Regions from separate parts of the Homo sapiens genome. Here regions 2 and 3 are each linked to region 1. The links are contacts of gene promoters, found by promoter capture Hi-C in blood cells and fetal thymus (Javierre and others, 2016). All regions are on one chromosome and are shown on one strand. The core of a region is centred on a gene start or on the middle of the fragment in contact, and the rest is flanking DNA. Distances in the headings are between cores, read along the strand shown. Region 1 holds the start of MPPE1 (metallophosphoesterase 1). Region 2 holds the start of CIDEA (cell death inducing DFFA like effector a). Region 3 has its middle 1.8 kb from the start of TUBB6.

The links. Contacts are between HindIII fragments. The CHiCAGO score rates a contact against its expected background, and 5 or more counts as called.
Region 2: a contact is called between the fragment with the promoter of CIDEA here and the fragment with the promoter of MPPE1 in region 1, in 2 of 17 cell types (endothelial precursors and M0 macrophages). The highest score is 6.0, in endothelial precursors.
Region 3: a fragment that was not itself captured here is called in contact with the fragment with the promoter of MPPE1 in region 1 in 1 of 17 cell types (erythroblasts); the score reaches 5.5 in erythroblasts.

Annotation. Positions count from the first base shown.
Region 1 is chr18:11,906,973-11,909,672 of GRCh38, forward strand. MPPE1 (metallophosphoesterase 1) reads right to left here and starts at 1,345. Exons shown (of 11, transcript NM_023075.6): 1 at 1,229-1,345. RefSeq lists a silencer at 1,738-2,137. The HindIII fragment of the contact is 5,797 bases long and covers 1-2,700 here.
Region 2 is chr18:12,253,100-12,255,799 of GRCh38, forward strand. CIDEA (cell death inducing DFFA like effector a) reads left to right here and starts at 1,262. Exons shown (of 5, transcript NM_001279.4): 1 at 1,262-1,322. The coding sequence starts at 1,285. It overlaps LOC105371996 (a long non-coding RNA gene), which reads left to right and starts at 1,914. Exons shown (of 2, transcript XR_935158.3): 1 at 1,914-2,332; 2 at 2,480-2,700. RefSeq lists an enhancer at 398-1,004. The HindIII fragment of the contact is 8,350 bases long and covers 1-1,707 here.
Region 3 is chr18:12,305,127-12,307,826 of GRCh38, forward strand. It overlaps a transcript of TUBB6 not described here. Among named protein-coding and RNA genes, the nearest start is that of TUBB6, 1.8 kb to the right of the region's middle. RefSeq lists a silencer at 2,601-2,700. The HindIII fragment of the contact is 285 bases long and covers 1,264-1,548 here.

The DNA of each region.
Region 1 (2,700 bases), core at 95-2,594:
ACCCCTCAACCATCTGCATGGACCCCACCAAGGGCATTCCAGAGTTAACCTTGTTTTAGGTTGTTTTAAGCAAAACTTGTTTAGGCCATGATGGGAAGTGGGGGTGGAACTTGACACATTTCATCCTCCTCCCTTTTAGAATTCAGGAAAAGCAGACCAGCATTTAACATGCTGGACACTTAACTTACCTGGAGGCTTCATCTGCATGATAAAACTTCAGTCTCCACAGCCTCTTATTGTAACCCAAACATTCCTTTCCATTGATAATAAATCTTTCAACCAAATGCCAATCAGAAAATTTTCAATCTACCTATAACCCGGAAACCCCCGACCCACCCACCTCCTCAGCTGTCATACCTTTATGGACCGAACCAATGTACATCTTAATCTTACATGTATTTGACTGATGACTCATGGCTCCCCTAAAATGCATAAAACCACACTGGGCCCCGACCACCTTGCGTACGCGTTCTCAGGGTCTCCAAATGGCTGTGTCACCAGCCATGGTCACTCATATTTGGCTCAGAATTAATCCCTTCAAATATTTTATAGAGTTTTGACTTTTTGTCAACCGCAGGCTGCGTCACAGCTCGCTGCAGCCCCAAACTCCTGCGCTGAAGCGATCCTTTCCCCCACAACTTCTCGAGTAGCAGGGACTTCAGGTGCGTGCCACTACACCTGGCTTTTTTTTTTTTTTTTTTTGGTACTTTTGTTGTTATGGTGGGGGCGGGGGACTTGCTATGTTGCCCAGGCTGGTCTCGCATCTCTGGGATCAAGCCATCCTCCCACTTCAGCGTCCCAGAGTGCTGGAATTACAGGCCTAAGCAACGGCACCCAGCCTATCTTTTAATTTTTAACTTCAAAGTTATCGTTAAAAATCTAATCCCCCCAAAATATGAAAAAAATACTTAATATGCACTGACCTGTAGTTTTTCTCTAATTCACTATCTTAAATATATTAATTGCAATCTCATCAACTGCGACTTGCATTTGAAATTTTCCACCTTAAACGGTATTTTTTGATAAGATGGATTTTTTAAAAAATCTACACCAGCAAACTAGAGTGAGAGACCCCTGCAAAGTAATACATGGGCCTTAAGTCACCGAGATTTTCCAGCAAATAATTTGCAGAATGCTGTTTTTCCTAGGTTAACTTGCAATCCTAACACGGAAGGAGGTTCCGTTTTTAGAAGTTTAAATGTTGTCACACGGGCGCAAGAATACATACAACAGCCATGCTTTCCAGCTCTGCGCACAACGCCAGGCAGATGGGGAGCACCGGGCGGTGCGGGAGCCCTTTCACCAGGGCAGGGTGGCTTCGGTGGCCGAGGGACCCGGGAACTGCAGCCGGAGCCGGCGCGCACCCAGCCAACTTCCTGTTTCCGCGGTAGCGCGCGGGCCTGTCACTGAAGCCCCGCCCCGGCGACCTCAGGCGGGCGGGGAAGACCGAGTCTTCCCGGAGCCGCTTCGTCCGCCCGGCGCCGGAGTCCCACGGCCGGTTTGCGGAAGCGGGTCGTCTGAAGGGGCCCGGCGGGTGGCTCCCGGGTCTCCGCGGCCTGTGATCCCCAGAGCGGACAACCGCAGCTGGGGCTCCGTGCGCAACTCGGAGTAAAGGCCGGAACCTACGCTCGGCGGCCGCGTCCCGGCCCCTAGCGCCCTCCGCGAAGTGCCTGGCAGGCTCGGCAGTCTGAGTGTCGCGTTACAGAGTCCCCTGGGCAGTCACCGCTGAAGGGCGGGGGACGCGGGAAAGGCATTTTGGGGACACAGGAGAGCTGCGAGGGCGAAGCACGGGCGAGCTGTCGTTAGGGCCCAGGAAAGGCCCGTTGCGGGGCGCACAGGCGGGCAGGGGAACTCGCGCCCCGCGCCGCGCGCCCGGCCTCCTGACGCCAGGGCCGGCTTCTGAGCACAGCCACCGCGGCGGCCGGGGGCGGCCACTGCTCCCCGCGAGCCCGCTTCCGCGCCCCAGAAGCCCCCAGAGCCCGCGTCCGAGCTCCAGGCCTTGGAGGAGCCAGGCGGGCAGCTGACAGCCCCGGAGCCGCTCCCGGGTTCCGCGCGCGGTGGCAGCCAGGCCGTGCCTCCCCGTTCCCCTCCCGCGCCGCGCTGCCCCTCCGGGACCCACCAGGCCTGGCTGCGCCTCTTTCCTCTCCTCCCCCGGAGCCTTGGAAAGTGCCCTCCAGAGATGTGCTTAGGAAGTGTGTGATGAATAAAGGAGACAATCAGGATAACTATAATATTTATTATGCACTTGCTTTTTTCTCACTGATGTTACTAATTTTAATGGTGTAGCGCGGCGCGTTCCAGTTTTCTAAGTGCTCTCACATCCGTTCAAAAAATCCTCAAAATAAGCCTGTATATTAAAAGCAGGAGCCATTATTTCATATTTCAAGAAGTAAACATGCTCAGAGTAATAATCCACATAGAGCCTTCCAACCAGTCAATTCTGGTACATTTTCACAAATCTATGAGTGTGGTTAATACACGGAGATGTGGTTTGAGGAATTATATAGGACACAGCCAGCAAAATGCCTGGTATACAATAAGTATGCGGTAAATGGTTATTATTATTAAGAATATTGTAATATCTTCAGATATGATCAGGTGAACAACTTTGACATAATCGAAACTGGGACAGCCTGATTCCATAAACACACTAATATGGCACCGTGGATTGTTTGCAGCCTCACCTCTAAAGTATTCTCT
Region 2 (2,700 bases), core at 12-2,511, 350 kb after region 1:
TGTGAGTGGGAGGGGCAGTGAATGACCTCCTAAAGCTGTGTCCGCTCAGTGCCTCTGGGGGAAGCTGCCCCCTGTGAGCCTGGAGCTGGGTGTTCCCAGCAGGCGGAGTCCTTGACTCTGGAAGGCAATTGCCTTTGGCTTCAACAGTCCTGCAAGTCACAAGGCTTGTTGACCACGGTGACCCTTTCTGAGAGCCAGCGGAGGAAGAGGGCGGGCATAGGGTCAGGTCTTAAGAGATCAGGTCAGTCTGCTCAAACCAGGTGGGCTCAGGAGGAGCCGGCGAGGGTCCCGCTGCAGCTCCCGAAACGCTGTTTCCAGGCGGCAGTCAGCAGTTGGGCACGAGAGGATATCCTAGCAAGCCTCCATCCCAGAAAGTTACACCTCTTACTGCCCGAGTCCCACCCCTCAACACTGAGCCCACCTCTTCAGTCCTGTAGTGAGGGGTTCTGGGAACCCCTTGTAACTGCCCGCCTTCCTCGGAGGTCTCAGAGGCCCTAATTGCGTCTTCCGATGGGAACAACCATGAGAGCAGGGTGTGGACGGAAGTCCCCCAGCCCCAGCGGGGTTCACTCTTTGCCTCCTCACTCTGCGAGGGTCCCTTACTACAGCTAAAAGGCAATTCATGCAGTCCAAAGGCTCCTTTCCCCTCCCGTTCTGCATGCCCTTCTCACTGTCCCCAAATGCTCATGACATGGCCTTGAGAGCAGCGCAGCGGGCAGGAAGCCCAGGCGCCTCGGAGAACCTGAAGGGCTGCAGGTCCCGGTGTCTGCGGCAGCTTCCGCATCCCTGCAGGGAACCAGCGGCTCGCTGAGCCTGGGGCTGGGCTCTGGGGGACTCCAGAGCTGGAGGCAAGTGGCGCTCACATCCGTCTCCTCACCTGCCCCACCCGTGGCCTGGGTTTAAAATCCACATACCCGTCTTTCCGCGGCCAAAGTGATGCTGCCAGGATTGGTTATGACCCCAACTGCCCCGACCCCCAGAAGTGCAAAACGAACAGGCTGGCAAGTGACCAAAAGAGACCCGGGGAGCATCTGGGCTTCCAAGGTCCTCGGTACGGCCCAAGGCAGCGAAGGACGCGCGGCTCCAGGCTGCGGGAGCCAGGACGACCGGGGGCTCCCAGAGCGCGAAGTCGCGATCCTCGGCGGTGGAGAGCTCGTGCCAAAACGTCCTCCCCTGCGCCAGTCAGGCCTTCGCGGGGCTGGCAGGCGGGCGGGGGCGGGGCCGCCGCACTTTAAGAGGCTGTGCAGGCAGACAGACCTCCAGGCCCGCTAGGGGATCCGCGCCATGGAGGCCGCCCGGGACTATGCAGGAGCCCTCATCAGGCGAGTGCCCCGCGTCCCCCTGATTGCCGTGCGCTTCCAATCGCCTTGCGTTCGGTGGCCTCATATTCCCCTGTGCGCCTCTAGTACCGTACCCCGCTCCCTTCAGCCCCCTGCTCCCCGCATTCTCTTGCGCTCCGCGACCCCGCGCACACACCCATCCGCCCCACTGGTGCCCAAGCCGTCCAGCCGCGCCCGCGGGCAGAGCCCAATCCCGTCCCGCGCCTCCTCACCCTCTTGCAGCTGGGCACAGGTACCAGGTGTGGCTCTTGCGAGGTGCGCGGGCGTCTGCAAACCAGGTGACAGCTGGCGAGTGGCTGCATGCATCTCTGGCCGCTGCTGCAGTCGCGGGCGCAGAAGAGGGTCCGGTCCCAGGAACCCCGAGCAAAGCTTCCGCGATGCGAGGGGACCGGGCTTCTGGGGGTCCTGGAAATCACAACGGGAGCTGGGCGCGGGAGGGGCCCAGGCTTGGCCCCTCCTGGAAGCGCGGGCTCTGGTCTCCGAGGGGAGGCCCCAACCGTCCGGCGGAGCCCTCCAGGTTGGTGGTGCTGGGAGAAGCGCTCCTCCTTGCCTCCGGGTCCAAGGGCGGAGACGCTGCCTGGGGAGCAGGGGGGACAAGGGGCGGGTGGACCCTGAGGAGTCTTCCCTGCGCTTCGCACCCGCTCGTGGTCGAACAGGCAGCATTGGCTATTTTCCTGCTTGGGTTAATATTCATATCCCAACAGACCCAAGCCAATTCTTGGTAAAATCCTAAGTCATTGCGTGGCAGCAACTGTAAAGTAAGGTCTAAGAGGGAGATCGTGTTTCTCTGAAGATCAAGTACCTGGAAAAGGATAGAGAACCATTTGCGGGCTTGAAGGTGCAGGCGTTCAGCGGCGCCGGGTCCCACTGTGTGTGCTACGTGTGGCGGGCAGAGAGACTACATGTGTGAAAGGGAGCGGTCCGGCTACGAAACGCAATCTATGAGCTTCCAATCCCGGGTTCTTAAATGGGAGCTGTTGTAGACACTGCAGGTTAGAAGCATCTTTCTCTTTAAAAATAAGCCCACAGTACAAGTCGGGGCGGTGGCAGGGGGACGCTGAGAAACACCTGCTTCGTGTATGGTCATTAACACGCTTAGGCCTAAAGGTCAGGGCCCTGTATCTTTTGCGTTCTTCCAGAACCATCCACACCACAGTCCCACTTCCAGGAGGGGAGGTCTTAGCAGTTTGGAATGCGTCCTTCCAACCACTTTTCCAGTGAATTCACAACACACCCACTGTTCCTCCGGAGCATGGGGGAAGGAGGTGTGGGCTGACTCGCACTAACCAATCCTGGTTGGCCTCTGAGCAGGATTCAGGCTGAGCCTGTCCCTGCCTCTGACTATTATAACAGCTCACCA
Region 3 (2,700 bases), core at 156-2,655, 400 kb after region 1:
GTTCAGAGAAGCAAGACTGTGATCTAAGGCACAGAAGAGACGGGCAAGAGGAGGAGGAAAGTGAGCAGACAGGAGTGCACGGGTAATGTGGCTCGCCCAGAGCACCAAGTCATGAACGCCATCACTGCCTTCGACCCAGGTGAGGGGCCTTGTCCTTGCCTGCCCCCTCCCTACAGGGCCACTGGGATGAGCCCACAGCTCCTAGATGGCACCTCAGCCCCCCGGACCTCAGGAGTCCCTGCCCAGACCTCCCCAAACCTACTCCTAGGGCCCCTTCTTCCCGCAGGGTGGCCTGGGATGGCTGTGAGTGGCTGAGGACTGAAGTGTCCACAGGCATGTACTGGAGACCCATCTCGGCGTGGGACAGAATTGGAGGTGGGGAGAAAGGCGGGTGTTGAAAGTGAGGACTGCAGGCTGAGACCAGCCCCCGCACTTCCACGCCCTGATGCAAATCAACGAGGAGCCCAAGAAGTCTACCGATTTCTTTTTTATTTTATTTTATTTTATTTTTATTGAGACGCGGTCTCACTCTGTCACCCTGGCTGGAGTGCAGTGACATGATCACAGCTCACAGCAACCTCCACCTCCCAGGTTCAAGCAATCAATCCTCCCACCTCAGACTCTGGAGTAGCTGGGTACAGGCATGTACCACCATGCCTGGCTAATTTTTTAACTTTTTGTAGAGACAAGGGTCTCACTATAATGCCCAGGCTGGTCTCGAGGTCCTGGGCTCAAGCAATCCTGCCATGTCAGCTTTGGAAGTTTTGGGATTACAGGCGTGAACCACTGTGCCCGGCCTAGCCTGAGAATTCTAAACTGGAACCTGGCTTTCCAGATACCATGGTGTATTTTTTAAGGTAGGAGAAGAGAATGTGTCCTCTACGCTTTTTTAAGTTTGGTTTGCGGCTTGTGTGCATTTGGACACACCGCGTCACAAACAGCCTCGCCCAGGAGGAGTGAGGGCCACAGATCGGGAGGGTAGGGGGCCCAGAGCCTGGAGAGCCCCAGGCCGGGCTCACAGGTCAGGGTTTCACCTGCCGGCTCCCAGAAGGGAGTGGCCAACAGACACCAGGGAAGTCAGGGTTGGGATTCAAAGAGAGGCCAAGGCTGCAGAGAGACTGGGAGCCACTTTAGGAAAGAAACGTGAATTCAGGCTTTGCACAGCAGAACTGTCCCCATGTCCTGGGGAGGCCTTGGTTCATTCTGCGGGGAAATCCCTTGTGTCTTGCGGGGCCCCGCCTCTGATGAGAGGGAAGGGAGATAAGCTTTGCAGGGGGAAGGTTTCCTCCCGGTCTCCTCACTCTTCGAGCACTGAGTTTCTCCAGACAAAGCGCACTCCGCGGGCACCAATCCCTGCAGACAGCGCAGAGCGCACAGCGAGCAGGAGCCCAGAAACCAGCAGGTCGGCTTGTCCCTTGTCAAATCCAAGTGACAACGGACTTCCGGAAGCCACGCTGACACCTACTTTCTGGCTCGATCAGACCCCTGGACTTAAATTCCAGCCCAAGGGCTAGCACTGAAAGGGTGGCTATTTCAGCAAACGACCAAAGCTTCTAAAGTAGACACTTTCTTTTAAACCACTTGATGGCTGGATTTCTTAGAGAGAGAGACTAAAGCTGGAGGAAGGGTTCTTCCAGGGATGGCACAGGCCCTCCGCTCTCGGGCTCCCCACACTAGACTTCGGGCCGGCAGGATGGGTTAAGGTAGCACTCGTTGGAGTCAATAATTAAGCAATGGAAACAAACAGCCTAAATAAGGGTGTTGAGGACTCAGGAGAAGGTGGCTGATTAATCTCAGGCTCATAGTTTGAAATGGGAGCGCAGGGGCTGGGCTGTGGCCTCCTCATCTGCTCCCTGGGCGTGTGGCTGTGTAAAGAGGTGTGGGGACCCACAAGAAGGCCGAGGAGCAGCACTGGGGTGGAGAGAGCAGTGGGGAGGCGGGGACCCAAGGGTTAAAAAAAAAAATTCCTCAATTTGGAAACATTTGCAAAACTCCAGAAGAAAAACTTTTAAAAGTTCTCCACTCCCTTCCAAACGTACAAACATGCACACACACAATTAGGAATTTCCCAAAGTTTTCATCTGTCTAAAAAGAAAGTGCCAGTGCAAATTACAGAACATCGTCGCTTCCTCATGTGCGGCGTTTCTACGGGCCTGGGAGGGGACGCAGAGGCTACCCCGGTGGTCCCAGCCTGCAGCGTTCACGTGAGGAAACTTCCGCAAAAGCCCTGATGCATGCACATTCTGACTGCAGAGGCCAGAGCATCCCGCATTTTGGAGGCTGAAAGGCTCCCCTAGGATAACCTTTTCCGTTAACAGAGGAGTCCGCTGAAGCGCAGAGCTAACTGAAAACAGCTAGAATTAAAATCCAAGTCACCCGGCCGGCATCAGCAGTCATTCCTTTCCACCACACAAAACTGGCCAGGAAGACGGACTCTGGCGCGCCCTCCCAGGCCGAAGCGCATTTCTTCGCTAACGCGCGAGGAGTAGGCTGCATAGACCCGGCGCAGGAGGTGTTCATTTTCGGATCCAGCCCTGTAGTCACTTTAGCTAAACCCGGTTCCAAAGGGGTGGGAGTCGTCGGAGAGGAATGGCCTCTGTATCTCCGGAGACGGAAACACCAGGACGAAGAGGCCCTAAGAACGTGTGCCCGGGGTGCGACCGGGGGGTGGGGGGCAGGGGGCAGAGACCCTGAAAAGCT